3 separate regions of the Homo sapiens genome follow, and all the other regions are linked to region 2. The links are contacts of gene promoters, found by promoter capture Hi-C in blood cells and fetal thymus (Javierre and others, 2016). All regions are on one chromosome and are shown on one strand. Each heading gives the region's core, a stretch centred on a gene start or on the middle of the fragment in contact. The rest is flanking DNA. Distances are from core to core; before and after follow the strand shown. Region 1 has its middle 380 kb from the start of STEAP1. Region 2 holds the start of TEX47 (testis expressed 47). Region 3 has its middle 500 kb from the start of STEAP1.

Region 1 (3,678 bases), core at 60-2,559, 980 kb after region 2:
CATTCAGAATGGAAGAAAAGTAGAGAATGACAAGCCATACTTTATTGATCTCATATCACTTTTCAGCCTTTAAATATTGCAATGAGAATCCATTTAACGACTTTCATCTGGAAATTACTTATCACCTTTCAAGGACATAATGTAAAATTCAGTAGAAGTCAATATTGTTAACAGGGCAAGAGTTTCATGAACATAAGTTTTTAAATGACCAAAGACAGGGTTATGATCTTGCTATAGAAACTTCGATAACACAGAAAAGAAGAATGTGGAAATTGATTAGGGAATTTTTGTTGTTGTTGTTTTACTTGCTGTTTTATTTTGAAAGATTTCAAACTCACAAGTTCAAAGAACAAAATAATGAACTCCTATATACTTTAGACCAGTTGTTAACATCACACCACACCCCCACATTCTATCTCTGTGTGTTTGTGTGTATACCCACACGTTTGTGTCGATAGGTATATATGTGTATACATGTATTACATATATATTTATATGTGTTTTATATATACACATATATAATACACATGAAGCATATTCATATGTGTGTATACTCACACAGAAAGAGAGAGAGAGAGAGAACATGAGAGAGAAAGAGAGAGTTCTTTTCATTTTTTCAAATCATCCTTAAGTGGACTATGGGCATCATGACTTTTTAAGCCCCAAATACTTAAGCATAAACTCTGAAAAGCAATGACATTTTCTATGTGACCAGAAAACCATTATCACACCTAAGAAAATCAACCTCAGTGCAATATAATCCAAGGAAAAAATCTATAATAAAATGCCTGTATTGTTTCAAAAATGTTCTTTATACTTTATTTTTTTCCATCTGAAATCCAATCAATATTACAAAATACTTTGGATTTAACTTTTATTTTTCATTTGTCTCCTTAAATTTAGAACAATTCTCTGTACTCCCTTTGTTCTTTATGCCACTGAATCCTTTCAAGAGTTCAGGTCAGTTGTCCTGCAGAAAGCTCACATTAGTGATTCATCTTGTGTTGAAATTCAGGTCAAAGTTTTCTAGCAAGAATGATATATTGGTGACATTGTGTATCATTGAATCACATCAGAACCCTCATTTCAAGCTATGTTCCTACTGGCAATAAAAAGCTTGATTACTTGTTTAAGGTTTCCATCATAAAGGAAAAATTACCCTTTGTAATCAAGGAGTATTTTGTGAGGTGAACAAATTGATTATCTATGTTTGAATCAAATTGGGAGTTACAAAATGGTGATTTTCTAATTGAATCATCTTTTCTATTTTAATCAGCTGGTATTCTTCTGTAAAGAAGAGTTTTTCACCTTTCTCTGTCTTCCTTTCTCTCTGTCTCTCCTGTTTTCATTTATTGTTTTTCTTTAATATCAATATGGAGTCATGTTTTTAAAACTTTATTCCATGTGTTATAATTCATTACCATCATAATTTTGCAAAATTTAGACTGCTTCAAGCTGGCTCCTGTATCCTTTTAGCCTTACCCCATCCTTGTGTATTTCTTCAAGCTTTCTGTTACAAGAAGATGTTTCAGGCTCAATTTGTACTTTCCTTTGTGCAGATGTGAAAACAGCTATTTTTCCAAGGAGTCAAAATTCCTTTTGGTAGGATATTATATTTAGAAATCTAGATGTATCACTATGTTATACTGCTAGCTGCTCATTGCCACTAGGGTGTCATTGCTTCTATACACTTTCAGGGACAGATCTAGGAAACCACAAATACATACCCACAAATACACAGTTGAACTATAGATGTATATTATGGATGTATTATTCAACACATAGGTGAATTTTTATATATATAGAAGTACTGCATTTTATTTATAATTGCTGCAATATATAGGAATATATATGAATATATATATTTTTTTCAATAACATAAAATTATTTTCACCTTTTACCACTCCATATTGGCATCTCCCTTTACCCATAGTAAAAGTTTAACAATATCTTTATTTTATACATTTGCTTTTTCCTAAAACACATAAATAATGCTTTTAGAAATACAACACCAATATCACTACTAACAGCAACCATACTAAGTAAAGTCTAATATTCTTTATAGTGATTGGGAAGTTTTGTGTGTCCCAGAATATATTCCATTAAAAGCATAGAGCAAGAATATTATATTCAATAGTTATTTGAATTAATTATTTACTCTGGTTTCATTGTCCCTTTGAAAATATTATTTTTGTGTATTTCTCATGTGTTTTTATTCTTTTTAATTTTTTAATTTATTTTTGTCTATGGCCAGATCACCCTGAATGTGCCTGATCTCATTTTTTTAATGTAAATCATTTTTTACATGATTCATAATGTAAAGCTATATACACAGGCATAGTCAGAGAACCCTCAATTCTCTCCCTACATCTTCTACATTCTGACATTCCTACGCATCACTTCCTGAGCTTCTTTATGCAAAAACAAGCAAACATGCATATATCAATTGTCCTGTTTAATTAAAAAAGGTAACATTTTATATATCATCTTGCATACCTTGCTGTTTTGACTTATCACTATATCCTGAAGTTTATGCCACATCGGCATATAAATGGCATCCTCATTTCTTGTTACTGCTGCCTCACTTTCAATTTTGAATGTAAATTCATAACAGATGTGTCTAAGTTGTCATCAATATTTTTCAATTGACAAAAAACATGGTATGTTTTTATTATGTGCAACATGATATTTTGAAGAGTATACACATTGTGGAATAGTTAAATCTAGCTAATTAATAACCCTTTGCATATATTGTTGCATATTTGTGCAGATGACCACCAGCATAAATAACTAGAGATAGATTTGCTTGTCAAAGGATGTGCATATGCAGATTTGTTAGATATTTGCAAATTTACTACCATAAATTTGTACTATTTTGCAGTACCATTTGCAATGAGTGAAAATTACATACTTTGTTAAGATTTCCTTAGTTTTAGTTTTTATTTAATGTACCTTTTTCTCCAAGGTCCCATCAAGATACATGTTTAACTGTCATGTCCTCTTAAGTTCCTATTGGCTGTTAGCAATTTGTTTCTTACTTTTCCTTGTTTCTGATGACATTGACAGTTTTGCAGAATACTAGCCATATTTTCCCTTGACTGAGATTCATCTGGTGTTTTTTTCATGGTTAGATTGAGATTATAGGTTTTTAGGAAAGAAGACCATAAAAGTATATATGCCAATTTCATAAAATATAACATCATTTAAAGGCAACATTATCAGTATGACTTATCATTGTTGATGTCAACCTTGTTCACTTGGCTAAAGTAATGTTTACCAGATTTTTCCACTATAAGTTTACCTTCCTGCTTCTTTATCATTCTTATTGGAAAGAAGTTGCTATGGAAAGCCCGCACTTAAGGAGTAGGGAGTTAATACTTCATCTCTTTGAGGGCAAAGTACATAAACATTATGTCTTTATCCTATACTTTGAATTATAATCCAATACCACTTCATATCTTGTTGCTCAAATTGTTCCACTTTTGGCCATTGGGAGCTCTTTCATTTGGTTCCTGTGTCCCTTCTAACACACCCCCATTATTGTGTTTTTTTGCATGCTTTCTTACTTTCTGGTTCCACAATATGCTCTAGACTCACCTTGTACATTCTTGGCTCCAGTCATTTTTCCAAGAAACCCAGGCTGTTATTTTTATGGAAAATCATATTAGAAACCAAGCT
Region 2 (3,796 bases), core at 156-2,655:
GCAACTTGGTGTAAGTTATCGCCTGGTCCTTTAGTGCCTACTTTCATAGTCTGGCAAAGGTAGAGTGACAGTTTATGAGTTTGTGTGAGAAAATCTGTGATGACCTCCTTTAGGGACTGTGACTGTGTCACATCGTCGAGATACATAACTGGAACTTTTATCACTGAAACATGCCATTGCATAAAAAGCCTCATTGGAATGTTATGAGAAATGACTATAATTTTCATTTGTTGAATAAAAAATACTGTTTCATCTTTGACATGGCCAATATAATCTAAAAGAACTTTGTAGAGAGTGTCGCTGGAGGACTCGAGGATATGCAGAATGGAAGTGGGATAGATGAGCAGCAATCCTGTCACTGCTTCTCCTAGGTGATGTTTCAAAACTGACTGAAACATTTGTTCATAGTAGTCAGCAACATCTTTTCTTTCTACATTTGCTTGTATCTTGGCCACTAGAAACATCCTATCAAGAAGGAATTTCTTTAGGTGTAGTCGTTGTTTCTCTTCTTGAAAGTGCAGGTAATTGCTACGTGGGACTTGGAGAAAAAGAAGAGGTTCCAGTGGCAAAGGCCTTTTGCTGCCCTTCTGGTTATGGACCGAAAAGGACATGAGGAGTCTTATTTATTTTTCCAGATGATTCCAGCTTTTAGCTTATCATAATATTTATGCTGCCAGGGTACCTCTTTACTGATGAACTCGTGTTTTTATTTCTTCTGACAAAAAAAAAAAGAGTAAATCACGGTTTGTCAAATGTTACTAAATAGTAAAATCCCAATCTTTTGCCAGTTTTATCAGGAAACAATGTATTTGAAATGAAAGACAATGTTAAAACAATACTCAAACTATAGACTTTTTTAAAAGTTTACAACGAAAGAGTTAAATAATATCCTAGGAAAAAACTTTGTAAATGTCATGTAATGGTGATTACAGATTGTCCTTTATAAGCCAAATTTTTTAAAAATGGTATTTTATGGTAATTCTTCCAGTTTCTTTTACAAATCTAACTGATCTATAACTTTTAAAAAAAAATCCAAGGCTTTTTAAGTCCTAATTAGCTTATGTAACCTTTAGTCATGTCACTAATAGTTAATAATGTTCCTTGAATAATAACAGTAAACATTTCAAGGGAAAAGTTTTGGTTCTTTGTTTTTTCTCCTATCGACGAATCTCAGAAATGATTCATTTCTCCCCCCTTTATTTGTTTTCTTGTTGTTTTTGTTGTTGTAAGGGCTACATGAAAGTATTCTGCTACTTTAACTTACTCTGCTTACAAATCTCCTCAATTTTTTTTTCCAGGTCAACTTACCATTTTTCTTTTTTTTCCTGTGCTTCTGTCACGCACCTGTCCTCGAGGCCCTACTTGTCCTCCATCAGGCTCCCAACTGCCAGTCCTCTGGTGTTCTCAGCTGTCCTGTGTTCTGCCTTCCCTCGGGCATACGTGAGTCAGAATGTCAGCACCATTAAAGGACCAGAGCGCCAAGTTTCTTAATACGGGTATCTCGACAAACACTTCAAAGTCACTGCAGAGGAAGTGTGAATGGCTTATTCCTGAATGGTTTATTTTTAGTCAGGTGCATTTGTAAGTCAGACAGATGGTGAGAATCTGGACATCTTTTTCCTTTCTTTTTTTCCGTTTGATAAATAAAAAGTATGGTTGTAGAACTCCTCTGTTCTACTTAGACACTAACTAAAGACTTCAGGAACACATATCTGAATCTATCTAATGGTGAATATATGATGAGAAAGTTCTATAGTAAGATTTGGCTTACTTAACTTAATGTGATTTTAAGAGATGCACCTCTTAAAATTGTGTCTTAAGAGATGCATCTCTTAAAATTGCATCCACATGAGTTCTAAACAGTAATTTTAAAACAAGTTTAAAAAACGTTTATTCAATTTTTAACAATGAAACCTAAGAATAATTTTTTCCCTGAGTTCTGTATTATCCAAACTAATGATCTAATTTTAATGATAATACAATGATAAATTATCCAAGTAAATGAAGGCAGAGAGGTGACTTAATAATTAATTAATTGTGTAATACATAAAAATGGACTATTCTTCCTCATTGTGATTCACTTTATCACTCCCTGAAGCAATACAATCTTTCCGAAGATGTAAACCATGGTGCCAAACCATGTCATTGCCCAGTCTAGTTATTATCTCACTCTCATTCTTCTTACAGCTTTGTTGGAAGAAAGTGTCCATGTTGACCAGAGCCTTCATTATGGCCTTCTCTCCTCTCCTGGTTTCTATGATACTGCACTTTCTTGGATTTCTTTCTAAATCTCTGTATGAGGCCTTGCCCGGCAATACCTTCTCACATCCAACTCTGGAAAATACTTAGGCTCTGCGCTCATGATGTGGTTGGATCTCTCGCTCTACTTCTTTGCCCAGTTAGCTCAGCACCATCTATATGTCTCTTTTGTGAGGGCAGGTAAGTGGTCCTTAAAGCCACTCTTGCCACTAGATTGCACGTTTGAAATTGGAAATTGATCATGGGGCTTTCCTTCTGAGCTTACCTGTGGACTAAAAATATTTTTCAATCTGAGTCTCAAGGTAGACACAACTAGTTAATTGGGGTTGAGAAAGAAGAAAAAACTGAGCTCCCATTCTAGATTATTTTTGCACAGAAAATTCTCAAATTATTATCTCCAGTCACTTATTCACAACTCTTCTCTCCTTGGATGTAACTCTGTCTTTTCAAATTTAAAATGAAAACATTTAAACAATTATTTTCCTTATTAAACATGTTTCCCTTTACAAATACCCCACTTGTGTCTAAATTAACATGTTTTTTCCTCTCAGTTCCCAGGCCAAAATCCTTGGTATTATTTGTTCATGTTTCATCCAAGTTATATACTCCAACTCTATTCTTTTTACTAAGTCTTTTTACTCACTTTAATATGCCTTAAGGGTTCTTGATTTACACTACCTCTTTCATAGTCCTACTTCTTTATTTGGATTATAATAAGGGTCTCTACCCACAGTATTTCTAGATTTCTCCACCCCACAAATTCAGCTAAGAGTGTGAAACCATAAGCCCTTTGATACATCTACTTTATAAAGTTAAAAAGATTCTCATTTTACAAAGTCCTCCCTGCTTTCTTTCCCTCCATAGAATGCTGGGAGGCAAAGCCTCTGCCTTCACCACATCCAGAGTGACTTCTGGTATTTATTTCCAATTTCCAGTCATGGATTAAACCAGAGAGAACATGGGGACAGGCAATGGTGTGATTTGTTACCTAACACAGCTACTGATCAAAGTCAGTAGGAGAATTTATGAGGTACTGCTACCCAGGAGCCCCTTTTCAGTGCACAAACTCAAACTAGTCTTTTATACACAGGTGAGATTCTTCCTCTTCATGAAACTGTTCCTTACTGACAGCCCAATTTCTTCCCTAACATGGCTGAGAACTATCCCTCAAGATAAGGCTAACCCCAGGATGTACTGTTCCACCTCAACTTTCTGTTGACTTCATTTACATATTTTTATTATAATTATGTTCTCAAAATATAAAGAATTGCCACAGCAAATGAGAGTGATGTACTATCAAGTTTTGAACAAGATTGTTAACTCACCTTGTCAGTTTCCCACTATCTTCTTGGATTCCCTGAATCTCAGAATAAATAATAAAAACTATTTCATAGTTCTGCTTGTTTTATCTTCTGGCTTTGCTCATTCTCCTCCAGGTCTAGTTTTTGTGCACTGCTTTTTCCAAATCTCTTTTTTAAGAGTTCTATTTCCATGGGTATCAGAACCTTGATGGCTTCCCCCTTCTTCTAAATCATAG
Region 3 (3,578 bases), core at 367-2,866, 860 kb after region 2:
TAGGCACTGTGAGGTACAATAGATCTCTTGATTTTATTCCTTCCATCTAACTGAAATTTTGTGTTCTTTGACTGACATCTCCCTGATCCTCCCATTCCCCAGCATCTGGTAACCACCATTTTGCTCTTTGTTTCTATTAATTAGATTGTTTTAGATTCCACACATAACTAAGACGAAGCTGTCTTTCTGTGTTGGGGTTATTTCACGTAATATAATGTTCTTCAGATTCATCAATGTTCTTGTAACTGGCAGGATTTCCTTTCCTGTTTTTAAAAGGCTGAATAGTATTCTGTTGTGGATATACATCACATTTCCTTTTTCCATTTGTCTGTCAATGGACACCCAGGTTAATTCCATAGCATGGCTATTGTGAAAAATGCTGCAACAAACAAGGGAGTGCAGTTACCTCTTTAACATACTCTTGTCATATCCTTTAGATATATACTCAGTAGTTGGATTACTGGACCATACAGTCCTTTATTTTTAATTTTTTGAGGAACCTCCAAATTGTTTTTCATAAGAGCTGTGCTGATTTACATTTCCACCAATAGTATAAGAGTTTCCTTTTCCTCATATCCTTTCCAACATTTACATTTTCTCTTTTTGGTAATAGCTATCCTGACTGGTATGAGGTAATATCTCATTGTGATTTTAATTTGCATTTCTCTGATGATTAATGATTATAAGCATTTTTTCATATACCTGTTGTCCATTTGTATATCTTCTTTAGAGAAATGTCCACTCAAGTCCTTTGCCCATTTTTAATTGAGTTGTTTTCTTACGATTGAGTTGTTTGAGTTCCTTGTATATTTTAGACTTAACCCATTATTAGATGTGTGGTTTGCAAATTTATTCTCCTGTACATAGATTGTCTCTTTATTCTGTTGTTTCCTTTGCTGTGCAGAAGCTTTTTATATTGATGTAATCCCATTTGTCTATCTTTGCTTTTGTTGCCTGTGCTTTTGGGTTTAAATCCAAAAAATTATTGCCCAAACCAATGTCATGGAGCTTTTCCTCTATGTTTTCTTACAGTAGTCTCACAGGTTCAGGTCTTAATATCTAAGCTTTACATTTTGAGTTTATTTTTGTATATAGTTATGAGATGGAAGTCTAATTTTATTCTTTTCACGTACAGTTTTCCCAGCACCATTTATTGAAGAGACTGTCCTTTCCCCATTGTGTGTTTGCAGCATCTTTGTCAGAAATCAACTGACTATGAATGAATGAATTACTTTTTGGGCCTTCTATTCTAGTCCATTGGCCTCTACTTCTGTTTTATGCCAACACCATGCTGTTTTGATTTCAAAGTTATCTTCTAAATAATCAAATTTAATACAATAGTTAATCTACTATCACTATAGACTAGATTTTATATGATATGTATTTTTAAATTTAGTAATCATTGTTTTCATTTCCCCAAAATCTGGTTTTCTTAGTATTTGGAACATTCTGATCTTATTTTACATTATTTAAATACTACTCTCATTATTTAATAGAATATTTGTAAGCCTTCTTGTTTAAAGTTATTTGATTTGAGTCCTCTAATGACCACACTATTGAGTTTCAGGGTAAATTCCTATCCATTGTAACTCATTTAATAGTGGTAATCTCTGGGTCTGTCAGTAGTTGTTTTCACATGTCAATTTTGTCAGTCTCAAAAAAATAGAGAATAAAATATGAAAGCAACACAAACAGTAAAAACAAAATATAAATATAAAAAGATTCAAACTTATTTTCTTTTGATGTTTTGAGATTTCAAGATCTAGTGTGAATGCCATAGTAGATAGATAGGGGTTTAGGCAAAGAAATACAGGTGCAATTTCAGAGAAATTTATTTTTGTGAGTCAAAAGCCAATGTTGCAATGTGTCTTAGTTATTTTCAGCAATTTTCACAGTCTCCTGGATACCTCTGTGCAAAGTCTATATGACCTCTATGGGATTCTTTACTTTGAAGGTTCTAGAACTTAGCTAAAACCCTGCCATTCATCTCCGCAAACCCCTGCCACTGCTCCAAAGTCCATCCTTTTATTCACAGTTCACTCTGAATTAGGAGATGTTATAGGGATTCTAGAGAAATTGAGATGGGAAAAATTGAGGAATTTGTTTACCCATTCTGCTGGGGCTCCCTTTCATAGTATGTATTCTCTCATCTGTAACATTTATTGACAATAAGCTTGGAAGTGTCATGTAAATGAATGGAATACCTCTCTATTTATTGGTGTTATAGAACGGCTTCACCCTTAGTAAATGCATTCATACTTTTAGTGGGAAATAAAGAGACTTTTAAAATATTTATGGTTTCAGGATATCATCTCATTCTGTGTATTCAAATTCCAGGCTATATTTTCTAAACTGAAAATGTACCATACAATTTTTGGTATAAAATTCTTCCATGCCACCCAACATAAAGAGAAAACTCCTTGATAACATGGTTTCTATCTTTTCAAAGTCATCTCTCAGAATACAACAAATGCTCACTAAACTCTATTTTTGTATTTTTTTATTTTTATTTTAATTTTATTTTATATTTTCGAGACCGAGTCTCACTCTGTCACCCAGGCTGGAGTGCAGTGGCACAATCTTGGCTCACTGCAACTTCCATCTCCTGGGCTCAAGCAATTCTCCTGCCTCAGCCTCCCAAGTAGCTGGGACTACAGTCGTGCACCACCACACCTGGCTAATTTTTGTATTTTTAGTAGAGAGGAGGTTTCACGATGTTGGCCAGGCTGGTCTCGAACTCCTGACCTCAAGTGATCCAGCTTCCTCGGCCTCCCAAAGTGCTGAGATTAAAGGCATGAGCCACTGCTCCAGGCTTAAACTCTACTTTTAACAGTTCATCATAGTTGAACCTACTGTGATGAACTAGATCTACTATGATCTTTCATACTCCTGTATTTGGCTTATTCAGCCTGAAATATATTTCTCCATTTTTTTTGCCTAAGAAGTATATTTCTGTTCATCTTTCTAGACTCAGCTCAAATATAATTTACTCTGTGACGTCTCTTCTGGCCCTTCTACCAGATTTGGACTCCCATACGCCTTTTTTTATAAAACTCCTTTAATAGTCCTCTAATATTTTTGTATGTGTATTTGTTCCATATGTTTCAATTTTCACCCTGCATAAAACGTCATATGGTGGTCAAACAGGGGGGTCAGAAATCCTAATATTTCCTCTATCCTAATGTTTCCAGCCTATTTTATGAACTACATAGAACCCTAGAAGTATTCTATGAGTTCTGCTTATGGCACTCCTCAGAGCTCTATTTTTATCATTATACAATTAACTAATACAAATACTGGATGCTAAAAACAAAAGGTGCACATTTTAAATAACAATAAACAAATAAATAAAACATTTTGAATGCAGGTCTTATCCAAAACAGTGTTTTCCAACTTGAGAGTTATCATCAAAATATTTATTTGACAACCTCATTTCACCTCTTCTAGAGTCTTCTTCTCATTTCTGTGTACATCCTTTTCCCAAATTCCAAATCAATTACTTGGAGCTCTTAGTTCATTATTTAGTTACTTTATTACTGTTATTCCTAACTCTACTATGTGCCTCACACCTTCTAAGT

Evidence for each region. The method cuts DNA at HindIII sites, captures the fragments that hold promoters and counts their contacts. A CHiCAGO score of 5 or more calls a contact.
Region 1: a contact is called between a fragment that was not itself captured here and the fragment with the promoter of TEX47 in region 2, in 2 of 17 cell types (naive CD4 T cells and megakaryocytes). The highest score is 10.5, in naive CD4 T cells.
Region 3: a fragment that was not itself captured here is called in contact with the fragment with the promoter of TEX47 in region 2 in 4 of 17 cell types (naive CD4 T cells, naive CD8 T cells, fetal thymus and 1 more); the score reaches 7.3 in naive CD4 T cells.

Annotation. Positions count from the first base shown.
Region 1 is chr7:89,774,644-89,778,321 of GRCh38, forward strand. No RefSeq gene overlaps it. Among named protein-coding and RNA genes, the nearest start is that of STEAP1, 380 kb to the right of the region's middle. The HindIII fragment of the contact is 390 bases long and covers 1,115-1,504 here.
Region 2 is chr7:88,794,332-88,798,127 of GRCh38, forward strand. TEX47 (testis expressed 47) reads right to left here and starts at 1,406. Exons shown (of 2, transcript NM_152706.4): 1 at 1,309-1,406; 2 at 1-715. The coding sequence starts at 611. The region is part of intron 1 of ZNF804B (zinc finger protein 804B); the gene reads left to right. The HindIII fragment of the contact is 9,842 bases long and covers 1-3,796 here.
Region 3 is chr7:89,649,180-89,652,757 of GRCh38, forward strand. No RefSeq gene overlaps it. Among named protein-coding and RNA genes, the nearest start is that of STEAP1, 500 kb to the right of the region's middle. The HindIII fragment of the contact is 1,109 bases long and covers 1,063-2,171 here.